Regions from separate parts of the Homo sapiens genome. Here regions 1 and 3 are each linked to region 2. The links are contacts of gene promoters, found by promoter capture Hi-C in blood cells and fetal thymus (Javierre and others, 2016). All regions are on one chromosome and are shown on one strand. Each heading gives the region's core, a stretch centred on a gene start or on the middle of the fragment in contact. The rest is flanking DNA. Distances are from core to core; before and after follow the strand shown.

The links. The method cuts DNA at HindIII sites, captures the fragments that hold promoters and counts their contacts. A CHiCAGO score of 5 or more calls a contact.
Region 1: the fragment with the promoter of SPINT2 here is called in contact with the fragment with the promoter of SDHAF1 in region 2 in 1 of 17 cell types (fetal thymus); the score reaches 8.7 in fetal thymus.
Region 3: the fragment with the promoter of PSMD8 here is called in contact with the fragment with the promoter of SDHAF1 in region 2 in 4 of 17 cell types (non-activated CD4 T cells, M1 macrophages, monocytes and 1 more); the score reaches 7.1 in non-activated CD4 T cells.

Annotation. Positions count from the first base shown.
Region 1 is chr19:38,262,693-38,266,811 of GRCh38, reverse strand. It overlaps SPINT2 (serine peptidase inhibitor, Kunitz type 2), which reads right to left and starts at 2,239. Exons shown (of 7, transcript NM_021102.4): 1 at 1,814-2,239. The coding sequence starts at 1,919. RefSeq lists a silencer at 2,215-2,534 and enhancers at 2,691-3,608, 3,749-4,119. The HindIII fragment of the contact is 1,481 bases long and covers 1,271-2,751 here.
Region 2 is chr19:35,993,493-35,997,100 of GRCh38, reverse strand. It overlaps SDHAF1 (succinate dehydrogenase complex assembly factor 1), which reads right to left and starts at 1,913. Exons shown (of 1, transcript NM_001042631.3): 1 at 789-1,913. The coding sequence starts at 1,826. The coding sequence ends at 1,479. RefSeq lists silencers at 1,457-1,576, 1,607-1,666 and enhancers at 1,727-1,806, 2,067-2,116, 2,451-2,950. The HindIII fragment of the contact is 4,511 bases long and covers 768-3,608 here.
Region 3 is chr19:38,373,190-38,377,030 of GRCh38, reverse strand. It overlaps PSMD8 (proteasome 26S subunit, non-ATPase 8), which reads right to left and starts at 2,460. Exons shown (of 7, transcript NM_002812.5): 1 at 2,070-2,460; 2 at 799-871; 3 at 577-679. The coding sequence starts at 2,429. RefSeq lists enhancers at 2,151-2,290, 1,921-2,551. The HindIII fragment of the contact is 10,393 bases long and covers 1-2,804 here.

The DNA.
Region 1 (4,119 bases), core at 990-3,489, 2.3 Mb before region 2:
AGTCACCTACAGCTGAGCCTCTCCCCACCAATTCACTTTTTTCTCCTGCCTAGGGCACAGAGAAATTAACCAGTCCCCAGAAGTTACCACAGGTGATGACTTGGTACACACCTAGCCTGCTCTTTTTTTTTTTTTTGAGACTGAGTCTTGCTGTGTCGCCCAGGCTGCTGTGCAGTGGCTTGATCTCAGCTCACTACAGCCTCCGCCTCTGGGCTTCAAGCGATTCTCCTGCCTCAGCCTCCCGAGTAGCCGGGACTACAGGTGTGCACCACCATGCCCAGCTAATTTTTGTATTTTTGGTAGAGACGGGGTTTCATCATGTTGCCTAGGGTGGTGTTGAACTCCTGGCCTCCAGTGATCTGCCCGCCTTGGCCTCCCAAAGTTCTAGGATTACAGGCATGAGCCACATCACCCGGCCTTCTTTTTTTTTTTTTGAGATGGGAGTTTCACTCTTGTTGCCCAAGCTGGAATGCAGTGGCGCGATCTTGGCTCACTGCAACATCCGCCTCCCGGGTTCAAGCACCAGCACCTGTCTATAAAGCCCTAGGCCATCTGGCTGCAGCCAACCTCTCCCACCTCCCATCCTCCTCCAGTCCTCCCCTCCTTCACGCCTGCTCCAGCCAGGCTGGCTCTGTCTTTTCCCTGAACCCAACCAAGCTTGTTCCAGCTTCAAGGCCTTTGTACTCTATTGCCTGCAACTGGACACTGGTCCCCCAGGTCTCCGTGTGGCTACTGCCTCATTCTTCATGTTAGAGCTCAGATGTCACCCTCCTCACGGAGACGTCCCCCGACCACCTGAGCTAAAGCCGCCCCCAACATCTTACGTCACCCTGTTGGTGTACTTCACCTGGTTCATTTAATTCTCAGTAACTTAATCTCATGGCAAGTGCTTTTTAAACCTTCACTAGCTCTGCCTCTCCCACTGGAATATTAGCTCTGTGAATGCAGGAACCCAGCTAGTCTGAGTTAACTGTTATAACCAGCGCCAGTGCCTGACACGTAGCAGGGCCTCAGTAAGTTTTGCTGAATCAATGAATTCTTGCTTTCAAGAGAGCTCTTTTCAAAACACGCTGGTGCTTGTCTGAAGCAGTTAAGGTTATAACAACACTTGTTCAAAGAGACCTTTCAGACCACACTTCCTTAAGAGTGTAGAAGTTTAAATCACCTTATTCACCACCGACTTCTAAGGGCCAATCCAAAGACCCCAACACCAGCTGCTCAACGCCAATACTCTCTCGAGCCTTAGCAGAGCTTCCTCTTCCCCAAAGCTTGTTTCCTTTCTTGCTCCCTCCTTCTCGGGCACCTACTTTACTGCAACTCAACTACAAAAACTTCAGGGGAGGCTCTTGTCCAATCTCCAAAGAGGCAGGGGTGAGATGGGCTTCTTCCGAGTCTAAAACGGCCACCAGGTCACCCAACCCAACCCCCACCATCTCACAGGCCTGGCCTCTCCCTGAGCTTTGGCCATGGAACTTTCCACCGCCAGGAGAAGGCTGGTCTTCAATTCGGCTCCTCACCCCGTTCTTGCCACAGGAAGGGGCAGTGCCACGCCTTCTTGGTCAATACCCCTTGACTCTTCCTCCACCCGAAGGAAACTCTCCTAACCCTCGCTCCTCCGCCCGTCTTCGCTGTCGAAGGCTCCCAAACCTCATTTCAAGGCTCAATCCTCCAGGGCTGGTTCCACCACACCCGCTGAACGCCATCAAGTAGCCCCCAGTTTCCTCCCCCGCCAGTTCTCCCTGCTCAGACCCCCGTTGACCCCCGAGCCTCTGCCCCCTGCGCCCCGCCTCCAGCCTACCCGCCCGGCCCTCACCGTGGATGCTGCGTTCTCGGTCGGCCGCCAGGACCCCAGAGAGGAGCAGCGATCCCAGCAGGGCGAGAAACGCCCGGCTCCGCCTCAGCCCGCACAGCTGCGCCATGGCCAGCTCAGCCGAGACGCGCAGGCGACGCCACCAGCCGTTGGGGTCTCGCGATCAGGTGCGGGAAGCCCCTCAACGCGCACGCGCAATGGAGCGCCTCGCGTTCAGGTGCCGACGCTCCGGGAGGGTCCGCCAGGTGCCAAAGCCCCCGGAAGTCGCCTTTCCGGACCTTCAGTGTGGGGACGCCCGGCCTTCTCGGCGCGCGATGCCTGGGTCTGCTCCTCACTCGCGCCCTCGCCGCCTGCGACACTCAACGGCCCTCAGCGCGTTCAGAGCCGCGCTACACCTCCCAACGCGCGGAGGTCGCCAGAGCCAATGGCGAACGCCTATTGGAAGCGGCTCCCGAAGGTGGCCGGGCAGGCAGGGGGCGGGGCGCACCTGGCTAGGCAGGGCGAGCTGGGCGCAGGCGCAAAGGGCAGGCACCTGCGCGGCCGCTCCCCGGCCCTGGGCGCACCTGGGCCCGCCCCTGGTGCCGGGGAAGAGGCGGGGCTTGCGCGGGCCTCGCCCCCAACAGAACCTGGCGGGGCGGGGCGGGGCGTCTGCCCGCTGAGCACCTGCCACCCTTCCCTTGGGCTTGGTGACGACGTCGGAGGAGGGCCTTCGCTCTAGGACTGGCCTCAGGGTGGGAGGAGGGGGCGGCAGACACGCGTTTCTTGGAAGCCTGTGGTTTTCTGCCCGCCTCGCCGCAGCTTTCCTGTGAATTCCTTCCTGAATTTCAAAGTTCACTGGGCTCATGCTCCAGGGCTTAATGCTGGGGACCCAGCGGTGGCCATGCCAGACTGGTCCCTGAGTCACCAAACAGGAACGGCCCAGAGTAGTGATAGCGGAAGCTTAGCACAAAGTGATGAAAGCTGTGATGGGGAAGGCCAAGCTTAGGGATCAGAGGCTGGGTCGCTAGAAAACCAGGGCATGATGGGAGCCCAGACAGCTTTCCCATCCAGCCTGAGAGAGGGCCAAGGAGGGCTTCCTGGAGGAGGTGATAGGCCCATGCAAAAACAGCCCCGAGCCCTGGCTCCAAGGTTCTCAGGACAGATATGGAGACAAATACTTAGCACAGGCAGCATCAGAATTGAGAGGAAGGAAGCCCCTGGGGAAACCCAGAGAAGACACCTGACCAAGCCTGGGAGTCAAAGAGGGCTTCCTGGAAGAGGAGTTACGTGAACAGACTCTAGAAAGGGGAATGGAGTGGGGCAGGCACACGAGTAGAGGATAGCCAACAAGGTAATCAACATAAATGCATTATTATTGAAAACACTTTTAGATTATTTCTTTTTTTTTTTTTTTTTGAGATGGAAGTTTTGCTCTTGTTGCCCAGGCTGGAGTGCAATGGAGTGATCTTGGCTCACTGCAGCCTTGACCTCCTGGGCTCAAGGGATCCTCCCACCTCAGCCTCCCAAGTAGCTGGGACTACAGATGTGAGCCACCACATCCAGCTAATTTTTAAATTTTTTGTGGAGACAGGGGACTTGCTATGTTGCCCAGGCTGGTCTCAAACTCCTGGCTTCAAGGGATCCTCCTGTCTCATCCTTCCAAAAGTGTTGTATTACAGGCGTGAACCACCACACCTGGCCTGAAAACACTTTGACAGTGCTATACAGAAAAGGAATCAGGGGCTGGGATGGAAAATAACAAGAGATCTTTTGAATGGGGTGGCGGAGGAAGGGCTTTGTGAGGGGTGGCTTTGATAATGAACTCTGAAGGATGATAAAGGCCAAGGGACAAACATTCCAAGAATCAGGAATGGCACATGCGGAGGCCTTCAGGCAGGAAAGAGAATAGTGTGTTCAGGAGCCAGGGCCACTCCCACTCTTCAGCCTCCCTCCTAGCATAATAATACATGAAAAGCCGTAACTGAGTTATCAAAATGGTATTTACCTTAAACAATGGAAGTCTAACCTTGCAATGAGATCATGGGACTCAAGGTGGAATCTGAATGTGAGGCCAAAGGTCTCCCCCAGCACTTGAATCTCCCACTGCCACTCAGGCCTACTAAACCTAGGCTTGAGCATGAAAACAGAGAAGTATGTGCTGAGCCGTCAAGGCTTGGAAGAAGGTATAGGCCTCTTCTTTCTTTATTTTATTTTATTTTGAGACAGAGTTTCACCTGTTGCCCAGGCTGGAGTGCAATGCTGTGATCTCAGCTCACTGCAACCTCCACCTCCTGGATTCAAGCAATTCTCCTGCCTCAGCCTCCTGAGTA
Region 2 (3,608 bases), core at 664-3,163:
ACAGGAGTGAGCCACTGCGCCCAGCCTTGGTCTTCTTGCCTAGAAGCCTATCCCGGCAATTAATTCTTCAAACTGCAATTCCACTTTATAACCATTTGGGAATGTGGCTCCCCCACCGGGATTAGGGCAGTGACTGTTTCTCTTCCGTCCATCCTCCCTTTGGTCTGAGGTCTATGCTCCTTACCTGTGGTCCTCCTACCCACAGCTACATCCACAAGAACTCATTTCCACTTATTTAACTGATATGGGTGCAAATATAGCTCAGCGATGCAAAATGCATCCCTCCACAGAATGTCTAGGGCAGGCCCATATGGGGACACCGGAGGGAGTATATCTGTGATCTATGGGGTTCATCTCCCCTCTCCTGCCCCAGGGCCTTGTCGTTCACTGTAGCTGAGGCTGGACCCTTCAGCCAGGTTTGAGAAATTTCCAGGTCTGAGACCCTCACTACTGCCTCAGGGGCTCCGAGCCAGTTCTCAGCTCCACCATTTCCTCTTCCACACAAAGATGTTAAATCACTTGCCCTCCATTAGGGAGCCAACTGGGGTATCTTTGGGGGTTAAGCCAGGATGAGCCCCCTCCACAGATCTGCCCAGGGGAGAAAACTATGCCGCTTCAATCAATGTGCCAGTCTACAGGGCTCCGGAAGGAGTCAGATCCCCACACCTATCACCTCCCAGATGGTCCCTTCCAGGTGTCTGTGTGCGTGTGTGTGTGGTGGCAGGGGGGCTGGGGGTGTTTCAAAAATCCTGAAATATATAAAAGCTTTAAGACCACCAACAGGGAAGTAGACATATCCCCAATTTTATTCCCTTTGTCCAACATTCCGAGAGGGAAGGGGCAAATGAGTCAATGTTGCCCCTCAAAACCATCAAGTAGGGGCCTTTGGGGGTCTTCAGTTGATCAACCAGGGTGATAGACCCCTACCCCTTCCTCATGGTCCTGGCTTGTCACAATTAATGGGGGAAAGTTTTCCAGAAGGGGATTCCGGGCTTCTCACCGCTCATCAGGGCACCTTCCCAAAACGTTCTCAGCAAAAAGTCTGCACTTCTCAGAGTTAAATACAGGAGAGGGGAGACTCCTTGAGGAGCCAGAAGTGGGTATGTTCTCAGGGGTCAAGAGAAGGGCGTCTCAGGCTCTCCCTGTCCACCGGGGGTCGTCCTGGCTCCCCGTACCTTCGGGCAAGTAGCTCTTGGCTTGACACTGTCCAGCCCGCCAGCGTCCCAGGCCGCCCCAAGCCCTCATGGGGGAGGAGCACCGACCTGTCTCCAAGCATCGGAAAAGGCGGGCCTCCCTTGCCGTCCATCACGGGGCTCTCTAGGCCCCCTGCGTCGCCAAGGAGGAGTCTCTGACATCCCCAATTCGTCAAGCTAGTCTCTTAAGACCTCTCACCTTAGGCGGGTTCCCCAGTCCCCCCATGCAGTCAGGCGAGCCTCCTGGCTCCACCACGCCATCGAGCGAGTTCGGCTCTTCGCCTGTCACCGTCCGTCGGGGCGGGTCTCCGGTGCCCCCGTGCTGTCGTGGGGGTTCCTTGGACTGTCGCCGTCGTCAGGCTGGCAACCCACGCCGCCAGGCTCCCCGGTCGGGGCCCGCGGGCGTACGAAGGCGCCCATGGCGGTGGCGTGGCCCGAGCGTAGCAGCTGCAGCTGGCGCCGCCCGCGGCGGTACAGGTACTCGATGCGCAGCACGTCGGACCGCGGCAGGCCCGCATGCTGCCGGAACTCTGCCCGCACTCGCGCCTCGGCGCCCGGCTTCCCACGCCCGGCGCGCAGCAGATCGCGGTACAGGCTCAGAACCTGCCTCTGCAGCCGGCTGTGCCGGCTCATGACCGCGGCTAAGCAGAGACGCTCAGCGAACGACCTGCGAACCGCGGAGCCGCCACACAGCCAGCAAAGGCCAAAGGGCAAAGCCACAGCCACTTCCGCCCAGCGCTTCCCTTGGCCTCCAACTCCCGCCTCCCGCCATCCGGCGCTGCCGCGTCTGACTGGCTGTCGTTGCAGTTACGTAACAGCCGGCTGGGAGAAGTGGGCGGAGTCGCTGGTCGCGGCCTCCCACGTAGGGGACGTGTGTTCTTGAGGGGACAGCAGTTCTGGGGATCCTGGCACCGCCTGGAGGGCGTTATGTGTTCGGACTCCTAGGTCTTGGGTTGGAGGGAACAGAGGGTCCTCACCTAACTCCTGCATTCTGGGAGAAGAGGAAGCTAGGGGTTTTTTTGTGTGTGACGGGGTCTCGCTGTCGCCCAGGCTGGAGTGCAGTGGCGCGATCTTGGCTCACTGCAGCCTCGAACTCCTGGGCCCAAGCGATCCTCCCACCTCAACTCCCCTAGTAGCTGGAACCACAGACGCGCGCAACCGCGCCCGCTATTTATTTATTTATTTATTTATTTATTTATTTATTTATTATTATTATTATTTGCAGAGATGGGTCTCCCTATGTTGCCCAGAATGGCTCGAACTCCTGGGCTCAAACGATTCTCAGCCTCCCAAAGTGTTGGGATTCCAGGCGTGAGCCACCGCGCCCGGCTACCGGTTCGGACTTTGGGTCCCAAGGGCACGGGGCACTGGGAGAGACGCCGGGCACAAGCGTGCTTTTGCCGTCAGTTACTGATTCAAACCATCTTGGGAAGCTCCGTGCGTTCCCTCGTCCGGGGCAGGTCTGTGTCTGGGGTCCCAGCCCTGGGCACGTGCAGAGGGACGAGACCCCGTAGGGAAATGGCTCTCGGCCGGTTGGACAGGCTTCTCGGGCCAGGGGAAGACAAGCAGAGAGAGTGTGGGCGCCAAGCCCCCAGAGGCAGCGTGTGGCTCTAGGAGCTGGGTTGGTCGCGCCCTCTGCGGGTGGGAGTCGGGGCAGTGGACAGCGGTGTTTGGGTCCTTACCGACTGTTAAAGCCCGGAGTCCGGGACACCCTGAACAGTCGACTAGACTGCAACCCCGTTGTCCTCCCAGGAGCTTTAGGTGGTAGGCCGCAATGCCGTTGTTGTCCCCGCGGGCCGCCTGGAGGTGTCCTCGTAGCGCTAGGGAGGCCCGCAAGGACACAGCATCCTCGGGCCCCACCAGCACCGGAGCTTGGGGGACCCCTCCACCCAGCGCGCAACCGCGGCTCTGCACACTTGGGCCGGCAACCAGCTGGGGGGTCCATTCCCCTTCAGAGAGGAGAAGCTGGTCAGGGGCGGGGATTAGGCTTGGAGTCTTGGAGTCAGGGGAGAATCACAAACCACTGTGAATCCTGCCTGGCAGGTGTATGTATCTATCAAAAATACATGTCCTAGAACGGTGGCTCACACCTGTAATTCCAGCACTTTTGGAGGCCGAGGCGGGCGGACCACCTGAGGTCGGGAGATCGACACCAGCCTGATCCACATGGTGAAACTTCTGCCTCTAGGTTCAAGTGATTCTCCCTACCTCAGCCTCCCCAGTAGCTGGAATTACAGGTATGTGCCAGCACACTGGGCTAATTTTTGTATTTTTAGTAGAGGCGGGGTTTCACCATATTGGTGAAACTACAGCCTTGATCTCCTGGGATCAAGCAATCCTCTCGCCTCAACATGTCCAGTGGTTAGGATTACGTGAACATCCCACCACACCCGGCTAATTCTTCTTTTATTGTTT
Region 3 (3,841 bases), core at 1,211-3,710, 2.4 Mb before region 2:
CAACACATATCCAGTGAGTCCCTGTTCTGGGCCTGGCCCTGTGGTAGGCAGTGCTAGGGACATAGCAGTAACTGAGACAGTTCCAAGCTCTGCCTTTAGAAAGCTCACAGTCCAGTGAGAGAAAGGGCTGGGATGAGCAGGCACAGGCAGAGGGGTGTGAGCTGGAACTGCATTGGAAGCCACAGGAAAGAACTTGGTCTTGTGCCTGAGGACCATGAAGAGCCACGGCAGGTTCTGAGCGGGGTATGGACAGTGTCAAATTTTAGTGTCACATGATCCTACTGGCTGCCACAGGGGTTTGAGTCAGAGGGGCAAGGCTGGGGCCAGGACACGTGAAAGGTGATGGCAGCCCCACTGGGCAGAGGGGGTGCAATGTGGGAATGGGTAGGGGGAGACTGACTAGTCAAGCCAAGTCTCAGGACCTCCAAGCCAAGCCCTGACCCTGCACCACTGAGGAGAGAACTAAGCCAGGAGGAGTTCCCAGATGAAGGAAGAGGACCCAAGCAGCCAGAGCTCCAGAAATAAAGGAGCTTCCATGCAACCACCCCCCCAGTTGGGGGCAGGGCCCATTCTCACTTGTAATCAAAGTAGTAGCATTTGAGCTGGGCCATGTAGCGCTCGAAGGAGGGGATGTCCTTGCGTAGGATGCTCCATTGGGCCCCGATCTCCAGTATGTCACCTGTGGGTGACAGAGTGAGCTCTCAGGAGGTGACTGAGGTCTCTTCCCCAACCACCAGTGCTACCATTCCTGCCATGACCCCCAGATTATCACCCCCAACCAACCCCAGTGACACTCACGGGCCAGAATTAGCTGCTGTTTGGTCAGCTTGGTCCCTGTGGTTGGCAAGAAGTTGAGCTCCAGAAGAACTAGCTGATGGGGAGGGGAGGGAGGGAAGAAAGAAAAGAAGGGAATTCAAATACAGATGACTTACCTGCTCTACGCTCTGGTCTTCCCACTTGGAAAATGGAGCTAACCATCATCCAGACTCATGAGGAATGCTTTCTCATAAAGCACTCAGAACAGGGCCTGAGCACGCAACACATGCCCATTTAAGATTACATCACATTACAATTATTAATAGCCCCACTGGGGAAACAAGGAGGGACACTCAGTGCCTGACCCAGTGGAATCACGCGGCGGTGGGGACAGGAGTACATTCCATTCTTGGCCCATCTTCCCCACAATCTATTGGGGAAGGGGTAGCTGGGCTATCCCCAAAATCTATATCTGGGAGGGGGAGGTCCAAATCTCCCCCCACAGTTCAGCCCATACATCTTTCCTTAGCAGGCTCAGCAGCTTGTTCCAAGCCACTGGATTTACACTCCCTCCCAACAGATGTTTGGTCTGAAGCACTCTGGGCCCCGTATTCTTGTTCTCTACTTGTAAGAATATTTCTTCTAGGTTCAGTCCTGCCTTCACAACTAGGCTGCCCCCTCTCCCAACAGATGCGAGCCTAAGCCCCAGATCTCTCAGATCCTAACCCAGCCTGGTCTTAACCACACACCCTCTACACAGCCCACCTTTTCAGCCTCATTCTTTTATCACTCCGGGCAGTCCTCACTTCCCACTTGGTCTTGCCTGGAATCCACCATCAGGAAAAGCCCGAATCCCAATCCTGCCACTCCGACCAGTTAAGCCTCCACGCACCAAAAATCTAACCCCTCACTCAGTTCTGCCATAAGTCTTCCAATCATTCCCCCACCACCCCCGCGTGGGTCCATTCCAGTCATCTCTCACTTAAAAAAAAAATGTAGAGACAGAGTCTCGCTATGTTGCTCAGGCTGATCTTGAACTCCTGGGCTCAAGCGACGCTCCCCCGCCTCGGCCTCCCAAAGCGCTGCGATTACAGGCGTGACCATCAACGCTCCCTGTCCCTCTCTCGCTTCTTGACGCCCTCCGAGCCCCCACTTTGGCTGTTCCAAATCTTTCACCCCATCGGATCCCCCAGCCCGCCTCAGTCTCGCTGGCACCGAGGTGGCTTCCGCGGCCCGGGACTTGGTTGGGTCCAGACACCTCGTAGCGCCTCCCACGCCCGCAACACTCGGTTTCCTGGGCCTGCCGACTTTACCTTGAGTCGACCCAGCTCTTCCCCGCACTTGCTAAGATTGGGGCTTTTACGGTTCCACTCGCCCTTGAGTTGCTCGTACATGCCGGTCGCGGCCTGCAGAACAGCGCCCGAGGTTGCCGCGGGCCCGGAGCTCGAGAAGCCTGCCGCCCCGTTCACCGCCGCGGCCGCCATCTTGCGTGATGCGGCAAGCAGACCGCCTGATTTACGGCAGCGCCGCCTACAAACGCTTGCCCGGCGGAAGTGGGGCCGAGAGGTGGAGCCCAAGGCCCGGGGCGGGGCTACAACCTGCCTCAGCCCGCCCCGGGTAGCCCGCCGTCGCTCTCGAGGTGGCGCCCTCGGAGCCCTGCCCTTAATGAACATGTCAGTTGGAGCTCCGCCTCTGTCGTCACTCAAGATGGTGACCGGAAGTTGGCTTTTGCCCTAACTGAAAATGACAGCTGTCTCAACACCACCCCCCCTACCCACCTCACGGTTCCAATAATGAACATGGCTGCCCTGGCTTCAGTCTGAGTGCTCGGGACGCTACGTAGCTGTCCTGGAGGTTCCGCCTTCGGGGCAGCGTCTCCAAGCCAAAAGGTAGCGGGTGTCGTGCCATTTGGAGAGCTGTGTTATTCTCATTTTATAGACAGACTGAGAGGCTGGGTAACCTTCCAAAGGACTAACAGCTAGGATGTGTACCTGGGGCTCCCTCTCCAGTCTTTTTCAATGCATCCTTCCACATTTTTTTCCCAAGCTTATATGAACTAACTAGTTACAAAACTCATCCAGCTCTATGGCTTTCAATGTCATGTGTAAGTGGAGGATTCACAATTTTTTTTTTTTGAGACGGAGTTTAGCTCTTGTTGTCCAGGCTGGAGTGCAATGGAGCAATCTTGGCTCACTGCATCCTCCGCCTCCTGGGTACAAGTGATTCTTCTGCCCCAGCTTCCCAAGTAGCTGGGATTACAAGCATGTGCCACCACGCCTGGCTAATTTTCGTATTTTTAGTAGAGACGTAATTTTAGTATTTTTAGTAGATGTTGGTCAGGCTGGTCTCCAACTCCTGAACTCAGGCGATTCCCTGGGCCCTGGCCTCCCGAAATGCTGGGATTACAGGCATGAGCCACCTTGCCTGGCCAGTATTCACAACTTCTTATACCAACTTCTTCCTCCACTGATTGATATTACATCTGCACATTCAACATCGCTTTTTCTCTCTTTTTAAAAAAAATTAAATTTTTTATAGAGACAGAGTCTCATTATACTGCCCAGGCTGGTCTCGAACTCCTGAGCTCAAGCGATATTCCTGCCTTGACCTCGCAAAGTGTTGGGATTAGAGGTGTGAGCCACTGCGCCTGGGCAGCACGTTTTTCTCAAACCCGACTTTCACTCTCCGTCTCCACCATTTAGAATGTCATCTCCATGAAGGCAGGACGATTTCCTTCACTACTGAATTCCCAGTATCTCAGTGCTTGGCAAATATTAGTAGACAGTCAATAAATATTTGTTGGCCAGGCATGGTGGCTCATGCCTGTAATCCCAGCACTTTGGGAAGCCGAGGCAGATAGATCACTTGAGGTCAGGAGTTCGAGACCAACCTGGCCAACATGGCGAAACCCCATCTGTACTGCAAATACCAAAAAAAAAAAACAAAAAAACCAGCTGTGCGTGGTGGCACACACCTGTAATCCCAGATACTCAGGAGCCCGAGGCAGGAGAATCGCTTAAACCCAGGAGGTCAGCTTGTAGTGAGCTGAGATTGTGCCGCTGCACTCCAGCCTGGGTGACAGAGT